Regions from separate parts of the Homo sapiens genome. Here region 1 is linked to region 2. Evidence: promoter capture Hi-C in human tissues and cell types (Jung and others, 2019). All regions are on one chromosome and are shown on one strand. Each heading gives the region's core, a stretch centred on a gene start or on the middle of the fragment in contact. The rest is flanking DNA. Distances are from core to core; before and after follow the strand shown.

The links. Contacts are between HindIII fragments. The study calls those that stand out against the background at their distance.
Region 1: a fragment that was not itself captured here is called in contact with the fragment with the promoter of MICALL2 in region 2 in 1 of the 25 tissues and cell types used here (lymphoblastoid cells).

What each region holds. Positions count from the first base shown.
Region 1 is chr7:1,149,843-1,152,898 of GRCh38, reverse strand. It overlaps a transcript of ZFAND2A not described here. Among named protein-coding and RNA genes, the nearest start is that of ZFAND2A, 8.8 kb to the left of the region's middle. The HindIII fragment of the contact is 5,994 bases long and covers 1-3,056 here.
Region 2 is chr7:1,457,739-1,460,802 of GRCh38, reverse strand. MICALL2 (MICAL like 2) reads left to right here and starts at 1,333. Exons shown (of 17, transcript NM_182924.4): 1 at 1,333-1,619. The coding sequence starts at 1,477. It overlaps MICALL2-DT (MICALL2 divergent transcript), which reads right to left and starts at 884. Exons shown (of 2, transcript XR_001745046.2): 1 at 536-884. RefSeq lists enhancers at 1-510, 1,934-2,656, 2,657-3,064 and a silencer at 841-1,560. The HindIII fragment of the contact is 47,250 bases long and covers 1-3,064 here.

The DNA of each region.
Region 1 (3,056 bases), core at 455-2,954, 310 kb after region 2:
GTTCTCATTGCCCACTGCTGCCGTCACCAAGTACTAAAAACTGGGTGGCTCAAACCATAGAAATCGGTTCTTTCACAGTTCTGGGGGCTGGAGGTCCAGGCGCAGGATGTCGGCAGGGCCAGCCCCTTCTGAGGGCTGCGGGGAGCATCGGCTGCGTCTCCCCAGCATCTCGGGGCTCGTCAATGCACAACCCCCGTCTCCACCTTCATCTTCACATGGCATTCTGTGTGTGTCCCGACTTCCCCTTTTTGTAAGGATGCTGGTCATGTGATCCCACAGTCGTGACCTCTGAAAAGACCCTGTGTCCACAGAAGGTCACACTCTGAGGTCCCGAGTCTAGGGCTCCAGCATGTCTTGTGGGGACATGATTCAACTCGTAATGCTAATGTTTGTCAAATCGAGAAGCATCTGTATTTGCCTCAACTGTTGCACCTGGTGGTGTCTGGCGTCCATCCCTGGGCCAGGCCAGTGGTAGTTGCTTACCTGCAGGAAGCTGTGTGGGTTCTTGCGGTCAGCACATGGAGGCTGAGCTGATCCATCCACCCTCTCTGTAGGTGCTCACCCATGACAGTCTCTGAATCCAGGCCGTTGGGAGATTTCCTCACCCTGGCTCCTGGCGGGCTGGCCCAGCGACTCGGGTACTGGTTCACCCGGCTCATGTGAACGCAATTTCGTCTGTGTGGGGTGCTGCAGCTCTTGGTTGGTGAACACGGAAAGGTTGCTGTGTGTAACTGCACAGTGTGACGCGATGCTCCAGTGGTGCGACTTCGTCAGGATGGATGAAGGACACAGGACTGGGACCCCAAGTTACAGAAGCAGCTCGCTCCAGCACAACCTTTCGGCAGCAGCAGCATCATACAGCTGGTTTCTGAAACACCTTTTCTGCCCTCCAAGATCCTCTGACATGATCAACATTCCTGCATCATCAAGACAAACCTGAAAAGAGCTGTTCTTTGTTCTTTTTGGTGGAAAGTGATGAGGTCCTTCCCGTTTGCACTGCCGTGTGGGTTATTTCCACTCTAGGTAACTTCCGCCTTCAGGTACTCCCCATACTTCTAATGGCCCAGCAGCACCTCCGGGCCATCTTCACGGGAATCCCCAGCTTCAATGCTGGCTGGCTTTGCTTTTTTTTTTTTAAAAGGGATGAAGTCTTGCTCTATTGCCCAGGCTGGAGTGCAGTGGCACAATCTCAGCTCACTGCCACCTCTGCCTTCCAGGTTCTAGCAATTCTCCTGCCTCAGCCTCCCGAGTAGCTGGGATTACAGGCACCAAACTGCCATGCCCGGCTAATCTTTTATATTTTAGTGAAGATGGTTAGCCTGAAACCTTGAAACTTCCCCACTGAAATACACAAACTAGGCCGGGCGTAGTGGCTCACACCTGTAATCTCAGCACTTTGGGAGGGCAAGGTGGGTGGATCACCTAAGGTCAGGAGTTCAAAACCAGCAAACACCAGACAGCTCACTTGCGCTCTTCACCATGTCACCTCTGTAACGATGTGACTATCTGGCCAAGAAGGGGGAAGGACATCCACCTGCCTGGCCGAGGGTTCTTGTCCAGCGGCGGCCACAGGTGCTACTCGCATTGTTTGAGGGCACAGCTGCGTGCCCGTTCCTGACCTCCAAGGGGCTGGGACACTGTGTGAGAGAAGGTGTGTCTTCCTGGACCACTTGTCCCTGCCACGGTCAACTTCTTAAAACAGGCACAGTTCAGCCAGGCGCAGTGGCTCACGCTTGTAATCTCAGCACTTTGGGAGGCGGAGGCAGGCGGATCACCTGAGGTCAGGAGTTTGAGACCAGCCTGGTCAACATGGTGAAACCCCATGTCTACTAAAACAAAAATTAGCCAGGTGTGGTGGTGGTACACGCTTGTAATCCTAGCTACTCAGGAGGCTGAGGCAGGAGAATCACTTGAACCTGGGAGGCGGAGGTTGCAGTGAGCCCAGATTGTGCCACTGCACTCCAGCCTGGGCAACAGAGCAAGACTGAATCTCAAAAAAAAAAAAAAAAAAGGCACAGTTGTCAGCAGCCAGCAAGCCCGAGAGCTGCTTTGCACCTGGATCTATTTCAGCACCAACAAGAAAGTTGCAAAATGCCACCTGTTGAAGATGGCTCTGTCCAGTGATGAAGCAGTGGAAACTTCCAGAAGTGACTTAAAACTACAATGGCAGGAACTAGGGCTTCCACAAGTGCCAGAGATTACAGGAGACTGGGTTTTATAGGTTTGAAGAGCAGAAAGCCAAAACGGGAGGGAAGGGGGGTAGTGAGGTGCACAGTCCTTTGTGGCTCAGATGACAGATGCGGCCTTCGTGGCCTGACACTTTCCACCACCGTCTGATTTTGTGAAGTGATGAACACGGGTAACGTAAATACTGGTGTTAGATTTATACTGACAGCCGCTCTGCTCATCAAGAGTGCAGTGATTTCCTGGGAACTTAGGGGGTGTCAGGGAATAAGGTGAAACAAAATTCCCCCAAGTTCTGTCCTGTTCTGAACTGCCCTGGCCATCCAGCTGTGCCCACCAGATGTCCCGCTGAGACAGTTCACAAAAACACAAGCCACTGCCTTTTTTTTTTCTGCTTTCACCATCTAAAAATGTAACGGGAAGGGTTTGTATTCTGTTGGCGTTCTGCAAAAAGGTGGTCAGACCTGCAGTCAGGGGAACGATGTTTCTGTCGATGACGGACCGTGTATATGTTGGTGATCGCAGAACATACTGTATTTTCACTATATCTTTTTTTTTTAATCTGACAAACTTTTTTGCTTTTATTTTAATTGACATAATTGTACATATTGATGGGGTACATTGTGGTATTTGGAGGAGTTTGAGACCAGCCTGGCCAACATGATGAAACCCTGTCCCTACTAAAAATACAAAAATTAGCCGGGCGTGGTGGTGCATGCCTGTAATCCCAGCTACTTGGGAGGCTGAGGCAAGAGGATCGCTTGAACCCGGGAGGCAGAGGTTGCAGTGAGCAGAGATCGTGCCATTGCACTCCAGCCTGGGTGATAGAGCAAGACTCCATCTCAAAAAAAAAAAAAAAAACTTAAGAACAA
Region 2 (3,064 bases), core at 84-2,583:
TGGCCATGAACACTACGGTGTCTCACCAGGGACCAGCCTCAGAAAAGATCTGGAACAGCACCATTGGCTGGGGTTGGAAGACCTCAGTTTCTCCTCCTCCCAAGGGGCACAGAGAAGCTGCCCTGACTCCCTGCCAGGGGCTACTGCGGGAAAACACCTTCCTTCCTGCAGGCCCTGCCCAGACAAGCCCTGGCCCCACAGCCAGGAGGGTAGGCCCCCCTCACATGGCTGGTGTCAGTGATTCCGCCCTCGTCCAGCCCCCGTGGCCACAGACAAGGTTCCCCAAGGATAACGGGGCCAGGGGCCAGTCTGGGATAATTTAGGGCCCCAGCAGAGGGACTTTCCTTATTTCTTCTGTCACAGCTCAAAGTGGAAAATTGGAACTACCCTGCAAGTCAGCCTGAGGAATCTCCTGCCCCAGGAACAGATCCTGCCCACAGGCCCCCAGAAGAAAAGCACAGGCCAGCTGTGCAACTCCGGCTCCACGGCCCCCTTCCTGGCCTCAGTTTCTCCTCTGGCAATGCCCAGGCCTCACCTCTGCCTTGCCTGGAACCCCCGCTGGCATGTAGCGGCCTGGAAAGAGAAACCAGATGCGGACGTCCTTTGAAACCCTGAAACACAAGGCGCCTCCTGCTCCCCGGGAGGCCGGGCTGCCGAGGGCTGAGGCCCTAGACAGGGCAGGGTGTTCGAGCCTCAGTGTCCCCGTTTGTCAACGGCCTTTCCTGCCTCTTCTCCATGGCGGTGGGGTGAGATGGTGGTGGGAGGTGGGGCGGCGAAAAAGAAAATTCCAGGTCTCCGCAGGGGTCCAGAATGGCAGGACCCCCAAGCAGACCGCGCCCCTTCACCGGTTGGGGGTCTCGGCCCTCAGCGGCGGGGCGGGGCCTGGGGAGGGGCCAGGCGGCGTGGGGCGGGGCCTGTCGGGCGGGACCTGACAGCGTGGGGGCGGGACTTACCAGGAGGCGGGACGTGCCTAGGGCGCGAGCCCGTACTGGGGCCGGGCGGCGTGGGGCGGGGCCTCTCGGGAGGCAAAACCTGGAGGCTGGGGGCGGGGCCTGTCCGGAGTCGGGGCCTGCCTGGAGCGGGAGCCTGTGCCGGGGCCAGGAGGCGTGGGAACGGGGCCTATCAGGAGGCAGGACCCGGCGGCTGGGGGCGGGGCCTGTCGGGAGGTGGGGCCTGCCTGGGCGGGAGCCTATGCCGGGGCTGGGAGGTGTGAGGACGGGGCCTATCCGGAGGCAGGACTTGGCGGCTGGGGGCGGGGCCTACAAGGAGGCGGGGCCGGCGGGGGCGGGGCCGGGCTCGGCTTCTCTTAGGGACCCGGCACTCGTCGCCCTCAGTCCGGCTCAGCTGGGGCTGGGCGCCGTGGGTCTGGCGGTTCCGTAGCGGTCCCAGCGTCTGTCCCGCCGGCCGGGCGGTCGCGGCACAGCCGCGGGAAGGTGTCGGAGGGCGGTTCCGCCGCGCGGCGGGCGCGCCGCCCACATGGCGGCCATCAGGGCGCTGCAACAGTGGTGCCGGCAGCAGTGCGAGGGCTACCGCGACGTGAATATCTGCAACATGACCACGTCGTTCCGCGACGGCCTGGCTTTCTGCGCCATCCTGCACCGCCACCGGCCCGACCTCATGTAAGTCCTGCCTGGCGCCCTTTGATTCTTCTGCTGTTCGGCTGCGCGCTGACACGGGCGGGGAAACTGAGGCCCGGGCGGCTGGGGGATGGGGAGCCGAGGCGTGGGACTGGGCAGGCACAGCCCACCGTGCAGCCCCCCGAGGCTGTCCTCAGTGGCCTCAGTGTGCCCGGACACCGAATGCAGCTGGGCCAGAGCCATGGCATCCCCCGCCCGCCGGCTGAGTCAGACGTGACTCAGGGCGGCTCCTGGGCCCTGGCTTCAGTCCAGTCCCCCTCTGTGTCCCTGGGAAAGGCCAGCAGAGCTGCCTCTTTGGGCCCTCCGAGGCTCTCACTGCCCAGGGGCCTGGCCACCAGATGGGGTCCCTGGATAGCCCTCGTATGGGCACTGACCCTCCCCCAGCCTGTTCAGGCCCCTGGGGGGATGTGGCCAGGGCCACTGTGGGGGAGCGGCCAGTGCAGGGCAGGAAGCCCCCAGACCCCAGGTGCTGCTGCCAGCCGGGCCTCTGAGGCCCCGGGTGATAGGGCCCGAGATGGAGAACAGCCCCCATCTCTGGGAGCAGCAGGAGGTGGCAGGGGTTGAGGACTAGGCTGTCTCTCCCCAGGAGGGTCTTGGCGTGTGTAGCTGGGCAGCTGGCCCTGCCCGTTGCTGAATCTTGGCCCGAGCCTGGACCTGCTCCATTGTTTATTCACTCAGCAAACGCTCTTTGGCTAAATGACTGGGACCAGGCTTGCTGGGACAGAGATCTGTGTGTCGGGGCTGGGGGCCAGACGCTCAGGAAGGGGGGCCCTCAACGGCCACCTGCAGCCCAGGCACCTTCTGGGCAAAGCGTTCTCCTGAGTGTGTTTTTGGTGGGAAGGTCTCGGGGTTGGGAGGAGCCACAGGCAGCACCTGGGGCCTCTGTCAGGCCGCAGCTGTGCAGACCAGAGAACCGAGGCTAAGAGGAGGGGTCCTTGCTCAGGTCACACAGCCCCAGCCCGTTGCGCAGATCCGGGGCTCCTCCCCTGTGCCCCTGGACACTGTCCTGCCAGTCCCACTCTCTGCAGGAAGCTGGGGTCTTGAGCAACAGCCTCGGCCCCTGCTCTGAGGTTGTGACATGCATTCGTGGAGCCACCAGGGGCTTCCATTTGGCGTTTGGGCAGCAGCCGCTCTCCCTCGCCAGGAACGTGCCTCTGTTGCCCTTGCAGGCAGAAGATGCTGGGCACAAGGTGCGTGCTTCCACATGGAAAGCCTGACGCTGAGCTTTGAAGGAGAGGGCCAGGGACCTGGAGACTGGGAGAAGGACCCGGAATGGGGAGGAAGGCAGGCGAGACCCCACCCCCGGGGCTGCAGGGTCCTGGATGAGGCTGGCTGGTGGCTGAGCCCAGGCATCCAAGCTGGGGCCAGCCCGAAAAGCCTCTGGGGTGGGGAGAGGCGTTGCCACCGGCTGCTGGCCACCAGCTTCA